Linked DNA regions of Homo sapiens: region 2 is linked to region 1. Evidence: promoter capture Hi-C in human tissues and cell types (Jung and others, 2019). All regions are on one chromosome and are shown on one strand. Each heading gives the region's core, a stretch centred on a gene start or on the middle of the fragment in contact. The rest is flanking DNA. Distances are from core to core; before and after follow the strand shown. Region 1 has its middle 3.8 kb from the start of MRPS23. Region 2 holds the start of EPX (eosinophil peroxidase).

Evidence for each region. Contacts are between HindIII fragments. The study calls those that stand out against the background at their distance.
Region 2: the fragment with the promoter of EPX here is called in contact with a fragment that was not itself captured in region 1 in 1 of the 25 tissues and cell types used here (spleen).

What each region holds. Positions count from the first base shown.
Region 1 is chr17:57,851,849-57,855,826 of GRCh38, forward strand. No RefSeq gene overlaps it. Among named protein-coding and RNA genes, the nearest start is that of MRPS23, 3.8 kb to the left of the region's middle. The HindIII fragment of the contact is 4,394 bases long and covers 301-3,978 here.
Region 2 is chr17:58,190,368-58,194,528 of GRCh38, forward strand. It overlaps EPX (eosinophil peroxidase), which reads left to right and starts at 2,359. Exons shown (of 13, transcript NM_000502.6): 1 at 2,359-2,555; 2 at 2,671-2,764; 3 at 3,004-3,179; 4 at 3,347-3,464; 5 at 3,596-3,725. The coding sequence starts at 2,480. The HindIII fragment of the contact is 10,445 bases long and covers 1-4,161 here.

The sequences.
Region 1 (3,978 bases), core at 1,248-3,747:
GCCCTCAGGAGGTCTAAAAGACCTTGCTCTGGGGAGAGTAAACATGCTCCCAGCTAAATATAGTCTTCCCAGGCCTCATAACAACTTTCTAATTCTGTCCCAGCCAGCAAGCACTATCTGCCAGCCCAGATTACAGGCACACTTCTCTTCTCCCACCAGGAACTGCTACTGTAGGTTAGTGCAGTCACTGCAGCTAAAGAGTTAAAGGGTTTATTCCAAGATCAAGGAGGGGAACCAAAGACGCAAACCCTCAATAGGGGAAGAACTGCAAGGCAGAAATGTTCTCGCTAATCTTGGGGTGGTCCCTTCCTCTTCCAAGCCTTTGAAGTTTCCCTTTCCAGCCTGCTTCTGTGACTGAGAGCAGAATATTGGTGGGCAGACTTGGGGGTACTTTGGGGATAACAGCCTTCTGAGGCTACACAAGAAGTACACACCCAAGAAACATTCATTCATAATACAGGAGCAAGCTGTCGGGCAGCAGGGGGCAGGCAGAATGGACATTTGAGGCTGTCTTCTTGAGTGGGGACCACAGCCGCCCAAGGCTGTGAGGGCCTGGGGCACTTACACCACGCACCACTGTGCCGCGGGAGGTACCAAGGAACCTCAAGTGTCTCATTCAGTTGTTCAACCACCTGCTGACATAGGTAATGTCCTGCTAATCTTACAGATAAGGAAGTGGTGCTTGTAAACTCCCAAAGGCCATGTTCCTACAACACCACTCGGCCTCATATTAATCCCACTGTCTCATTGTAGACGTGCCCACTAATTGCTTCACTCTGAGCAAGTTATGTAACTTTTCGAGCCTCTGTTTCTCCAACTGTTAAAATGTGGAGCTGGGCTCAGTGGCTCATGCTTGTAATCCCAACATTTTGGGAGGCCAGTGTGGGAGGATTGCTTAAGCCAGGAGATCAAAACCAGCCTGGGCAAAATTAGCCAGGTGTGGTGGTGCATGCCTGTAATCCCAGCTACTCAGGGGACTGAGGTGGGAGGATGGCCTGAGCCCAGGAGTTCAAGGCTGCAGTGAGCCATGATCACACCACTGCACTCCAGCCTGGTCAACAGAGCCAAGACCCTGTCTCAAATAATAATAATAATAATAATAATAATAATAATAATAATCTGGATGGCAGTGTCAACTATCTTCGTGGCTTGTTGCAAAAGTAAAAGAGATCATTCATGTAAAGCACTAATCACGGCACCTGGGACATAGTGAGTGCCTGTGAGCAGCAACAAGCCTGATGGCTGTAACAGCAACACGATTGCTGTTGTGCTGTGTCATCCACCCATTGCCACCTGGACTGCAGCATTTTGATAATATTTCATAGATTGCCTTACTGTTTTACTTTCTTGTTAGATGATCCGTTCGTTCCAGAAGCATATAAACACCTACCTGACTATTCTGAGTCTTAGAGAATCCAACGGTCCAGTAGGGAAGACAGAGAGGTAAATACATAAATATTAAGTTATGTGCTGAATAGCTTGTTGATTGTATGAAGTTTGCTAGGCCTGCCCTAACACCACTTGCACACAAAGTGGGTGGCTTAAACACAGATTTATTTTCTCCCTATTCTGGAGGCCAGAAGTCCAAGATCAAGGTGTCTGCAAGTTTAGTTTATTCTGCACTTGGCTAGTTTCTCCTTGCCTTGGAGACAGCTTTCTTCTCCCACGTCTTCACATGGTCTTTCCTCTGTGTGGGAAGGTTTTGTCCTAATCTCTTCTTATGAGGACACCAGTCTTATTGGATTAGGGCCCACCCTACTGACTTCATTTTAACTTAATTACCTCTTTAAAGACTACCTCCTATTATAGTCACATTCTGAGGTACTGGAGTTAGGACCTCAACATATGATTTTTGGGGAGACACAGCTCAGCCCCTAACATAGATCAGTAAGTGCTGAATAGTTCCCATTTGCCCAAGCAGTTCCACACCCACTCTCTGCCGTCCTTCGCCCTGTTCTGTGCCTCGGGAGGCTGGCTTCTGTGGCCTGCATCCACCAGCTCCTTGCCCTCTGCTTCTGGCTGGATTCCAGTTGGTACTGCCAGCGGGCTCCCTCCTGGAACATAAAGTTCTAGAACATAAAATCACAGCTCTCTCACCAGGTTCCAGCCACCGTCCCTCTCCTGCTCCTTCAAGCCTAGACGTAGTTGGCAAGCTGTACCCCTCTGTTATTAGCCACGGGGTCTAGGCCATCCCTTGTGGCTTCCCATCACTCTGCCCACATCTTTGTGACAATGCCCGTATTTAAATAGTGCGTGGAGGTCAGGCGTGATGGCTCATGCCTGTAATCCCAACACTTTGGGAGGCCAAGGCGGGTGGACCACTTGAGGTCAGGAGTTCGAGACCAGCCTGGCCAACATGGCGAAACCTCGTCTCTACTAAAAATAAAATAAAAAATAAAAAATAAAAAAAATTAGGCGGGTGTCATGGCACACACCTGTAATCCCAGCTACTTGGGAGGCTGAGGCAGGAGAATCACTTGAACCCAGGAAGCGGAGGTTGCAGTGAGCTGAGATTGCACCACTGCACTCCACCCTGAGTAACAGAGCAAGACTCCGTCTCAAAAATAAATAAATAAATATTGTGTGGGAATTTGTCAGACAAAATGAGGAAGAGCATCATCCCCAGTAGTGGAACAGCTTTGGTAAGTGAAACTCCCAGCACACTGATGAAATCATGAATGCTGCTACTCACCTATGACAGCTAAAATCAGGGAGCAATTAGCTTTAAAGGGAGGAAAGCAATACAGTATATTCAATACACAGTTTAAGAATTATGTCAGGCCAGCTGTGGAGGATCATGTCTGTAATCCCAGCACTTTGGGAGGCCAAGGCGGGAGGATGACTTGAGGCCAGGAGTTTGAGACTAGCCTGGCCAACATAGCGAGACCTTGTCTCTACAAAAAAAAAAAAAAAAAAAAAAAAAAAAAGAAGAAGAAAAGAAGAGAAAGAAAAAAGTTAGCCAGTGCAGTGGCACAAGCTGGTAGTGCTAGCTACTCATGAGGCTGAGACAAGAAGATTGCTTGCGCCCAGGAGTTCGCAGCTGCAGTGAACTATGATCGTGCCACTGCACCCCAACCTGTGTGACAAAGTGAGCCCTTTTCTCTAAAAAAAGAGAGAGAGGATTATATCAGGATCCGTTAAAAAAAAAAGAATTGTAGGCTTCCTGAGTCTGAGGACCAGGAGGATGAAGGGCAGGGAGGGCTATTAAAGGAGGAGGCAGCCAGGCACAGCTGCTCACGCCTGTAATCCCAGCACTTTGGAAGGCCGGGGTGGGTGGATCACTTGAGGTCAGGAGTTCGAGACCAGCCTGGCCAACGTGATGAAACCCCGTCTCTACTACAAATTTAAAAATTAGCCAGGCATGGTGGTTGGCACCTACAATCCTAGCTACTCGCTACTTGGAAGGCTGAGCCAAGAGAATTGCTTGAACCCAGGAGGCGGAGGTTGCAGTGAACTGAGATCGTGCCACTGCATTCCAGTTGGGGCGACAGAGCAAGACTCCATCTCAAAAAAAAAAAAAAAGGGGGGGGGGAGTCAGAGTACCTTCTCTTTCCTTCCGGCTGTTGGGCTTGTGCCCCTCTCCTGAGAGCTCCCCTTCAGACCCCCTTCCTAGGCTTCAAGGAACTGTCAAGAATCAGTTCAGGTGGAAAAGCTTTTCAGCCCCCAGCACACACTCGGTAAGATCGGGTGAGTGCCCAGACCTGCTCCCTCCCTTCCTATGCTTATCTCTTTCAGGGCTATGTCTGTGTTGTAACTCTGTTTACCTGTCTGAGTCTGGCTACAGGGGCCTTTTTGAGGGCAGGAACTAGGACTTTTAGCTCTGCCTCCCCACACCCGGCCTGGTGCTTGGCCCACAGCTCTCAGAGTTTTCCAGTGAACAGCATGGATAAATAAAGCCAAGTTAGGACAAATGAGGATGCTGTCATCTCAGCCTTCCCTTCACTGCCTGTGCATACCCAGCCCTCCCTCTCTCCCAGG
Region 2 (4,161 bases), core at 1,109-3,608, 340 kb after region 1:
ACCCTTGCACTGCTCACTATTGTTGAAGAACTAGAGTACCCTCTGCAGGGAGAGCAGAGCTCACTCTGAGTGCTGGGGACCCTGGAAGTACAGCAATCCAGGATACATGCACCCCATCCTGGCTCCAACCTGGGTTACATACACCCCACCCCAACTCCAACCTGGAGTATATGCATCCCATCCCAGCTCCAACCTGCGGTACATACATCCCACTCCAATTCTATCCTGGGTTACATACACCATACCCCAGCTCCAACCTGGAGTACATACATCCCACCCCAACTCCAACCAGGGGTACATACGCCCCACCCCGACTCCTACCTGGGGTATATACACCCCACTCCAACTCCAACCTGGGGTACATACATCCCACCCCAATTCTATCCTGGGTTACATACACCCCACCCCAACTCCAACCTGGGGTACATGCACCCCACCCTGCCTCCAACCTAGGGTACATACAGCCCACCCCAACTCCAACCTGGGTTACATACACCCTACTCTGGCTCCAAGCTATGGTACATACACCCCACCCTGGCTCCAACCTAGGGTACATACACCCTACTCCAACTCCAACCTGGGTTATATACACCCCACCCTGGCTCCAAGCTGTGGTACATACACCCCATCCAGCTCCAACCTGGGGTACATGCATTCCACCTGGCTCCACCCGGGGAGCACCTGGCTCCCTGAGGGCCGGGAGGTGACACACAGCTGAGGAGTGCTGTGTGATTTATATAATCTCTCTCCTCCATGAGGCTCCCTGTCCCCATCTCACAGGTTTGGAAACAGGTCCATGGAGGGGTGTGATTTACCCAGTCACTCAGTGGGTCAGCATCAAGGAACCCAGTGTGCTTTCAGCTCCTACACAGTGACTTCTACCCAGGCCCCCCGTCACAGGAGAGGGGCCTCCGCTAAAGATAAGGAGATAAGATTAGGAGGGCTCAGGCCATCAACTGGAGCTTGTGAAAGGGGTTGCCGAAGAGAGGTGGTTGTTTCAAGAGCAACGGTTGGGCTGGTAACATTGCTGTGGGAGGAGGAGGCTGTGGAAGGCACCGGGCAGGGTTTCGGTAGGGTGTGGGGGTGGGGGAGGAGAAAGGACACTTGGAACAGCCTCCCTGGGAGTCTGGAGCAGGCACGGGGTCCACACTGAAGAAGGAATGGACGTGTCCTCCTGAAGAAGGGGCGAGGACACGCAGGCTGCTGGCCACAGTGGTGGTGACTCTGGAACTGTCTCAGGGATGAGCATGTGCTCTCCAGGCAGCCGGGATGAGGTCAGAGGCAAAGGATGAACCTGGCTCATCCAGGGCAGGGAACTACAGGAGGAAGGCTTAGGTGCAGAGAGGGTGGGCCCTGGCAGAAGGCCGACTGGGATGCACTCTGCACTTAAGGTGGAAATGGAGGCGCACTTAAGGTGGAAATGGAGGCTCACCCAAGGTCACGAAGCTAGTGACAGGGCTGGATTCAATCCAGGCCAATCAGACCCTGGTGCAGCACACTGCCTCTAAAGAAGCTACTTCTCACCAAGCCCAATAGGAACTCATAATTGAAATCTACTTCTCAGAGTAAACCTACTACTGATTGGCACCTAAGAAACTCCAAGAGAATAAAGCCCATGGCGGGCGCTTACTTTTAGGCTCTGCAGCAGCTCACTGGGCTGGGTGTTTTACCTGTGACATCTCGCCATGTCCCCAAAATGGCCCCATGAGGGATTTCACTGCCAGGCCCTGCCTCAGTCACAGCCTCACACTCTCCCTGGCACCTTGGAGGGAGTGAGTAGGGCTAGGGGATAAGGAGAGGGGCCAAATCATTCATCACAGATCATTCATTCACTCAACAAACACCTGCTAAGCACATACTAAATGCTGGGCTTTGAGCTGGGTATGGGGGGTGTGTATAACAGTAAGGCAGATTCAGTTTCTGCCCTGTTGCAGGAGGAGAGGCACCCTTCCAATCATCTGGCCCAACTCTCATTCTAGGGATGTGAAAACTGAGGCCTGGAGAGGGAAAGTGGCTTGCCCAAGGCCATGCAGCCAGGCGGTGGCGACTGAGGTGCACCGCTCCTGTCAGCCAACAAATATCCATTGAGCGACACCTGTGTCCCAGGTGCTGCTCTGGGCCCTGGGAGAAGTGCATCAGTGGGCTTGGTAGTAGAGGGTAGGGATGGAGTGAAGGGTAGGCAGGAAGAATGTCCCCAGGCTGGTAGGAGGTGGGGTGGGGGGTTTCAGTCTCAAAACTCCCATGAAAACCAGAGAGAAGTTTCAGAACTCCACCCAAGAGGCTGGGTTTCTAGGGCCCAGAGCTGCCCTCCCCCACCCTAGAATGGGCTATAAAAGTCCCTTCCCAGCTACGTCCAGAGAAGAGCTGGAGGAAGTGAGAGGTCGGCTGGGGGTCCTCAAAGTGAGAGGGGAGCAGAGGATCCTCCCGTGCAGGCTGTGGATGTCACTCACTTCCCAGCTGGTGAAGCCTCGCTGCAGAGATGCATCTGCTCCCAGCCCTGGCAGGGGTCCTGGCCACACTCGTCCTCGCCCAGCCCTGTGAGGGCACTGACCCAGGTAATAGTCCCCTAGACAGGCAAGGAGGAGGGAGGGGAAATGGAAGGGGAAGCACTTGGGTCTTGGAGGGGGTCTTGTGGCTTGCTGAACCCTGAGTCCCCATCTCTTTGAACAGCCTCCCCTGGGGCAGTGGAGACCTCGGTCCTGCGAGACTGCATAGCAGAGGCCAAGTTGCTGGTGGATGCTGCCTACAATTGGACCCAGAAGAGGTGGACTTGGGTCTGGGGGCTGCATGGGCCTGGGAGGATCAGTGAGGGGCATGGGCCCCAGCCAAGTTCATCTCACTCATCAGCCACCTCTGGACCCCATGAACATTTCCTGTTGGTAGAGCCTCCCTTCCATCCATCCTTCTGTCCGCTTGCCCTGTCCTGACTGTGCCCCAGGACTGGGTCTCTGCTGGGTGGGTCTGCACCCTCTCTCCAGCCCTCACTCCTCCTCTCCTGGGCAGCATCAAGCAGCGGCTTCGCAGCGGTTCAGCCAGCCCCATGGACCTCCTGTCCTACTTCAAACAACCGGTAGCAGCCACCAGGACAGTTGTTCGGGCCGCAGATTATATGCATGTGGCTTTGGGGCTGCTTGAAGAGAAGTTACAACCCCAGCGGTCCGGACCCTTCAATGTCACTGGTACTCTGATCCCCACTGAGCCCGCTGGGCCTACCCTGGCCTGGAGTAGAAGGAATCCAGGAGAGGGAGGCAGGGTGCACAGGTTTGGGGTGCTGGGAGGAGAGAGGGTAAAGGGATGGGAGGTACAGAGCAGGCCAGCTCAGGTCTGCCCATTTGCCTTCCCACAGATGTGCTAACAGAACCACAGCTGCGGCTGCTGTCCCAGGCCAGTGGCTGTGCTCTCCGGGACCAGGCCGAGCGCTGCAGCGACAAGTACCGCACCATCACTGGACGGTGCAACAACAAGTGCGTGCGGGGCGGCAGGAGGGGCTGCCCCTGCCTGGGGGACCTCTCCCTTCCTGCACCCACCCTCTCCCTCCATGCTGAGCCATCTCCAGGCCCTGCCCCCTGCTAACCTATCCCACCCATGGCTGCAGGAGGAGACCCTTGCTAGGGGCCTCCAACCAGGCTCTGGCTCGCTGGCTGCCCGCCGAGTATGAGGATGGGCTGTCGCTCCCCTTCGGCTGGACCCCCAGCAGGAGGCGCAATGGCTTCCTTCTCCCTCTTGTGAGTTGGGGCTGAGGGTTTGGGAGGTTGCTTGATCTCTTAAATGCGGGGAGTAAAACACAGCCCAGAGTCACGCAGGCAGGGCTTGAACCCAGGCCCTTCCACTGACCAGTGCAGTGACTTGAGGCAAATAACACAGCTTTCTGAGGCTTAGTTTCCTCATCTGTAAAATGGCCCTAAAACCTACCTCGTAGAGCCTGTGTGGATATTGAAGTCCTTGGTATAAATAGCTATAGAGGACATGATCTATTCATGCTAACCATTACGGTGTTGTACGGTTTTTTCTGAGAAAATTAGTGTCAAAGTCTTGCTAAATATAAACAGCTCTATACCTTAATCTGGCTTTATCTATTGATCTATTTCACATTTATCAACTCATCAGTTTTCTATTGATATATCGATAGAGCAGTCTATCATCTACCCATCTATCAACATC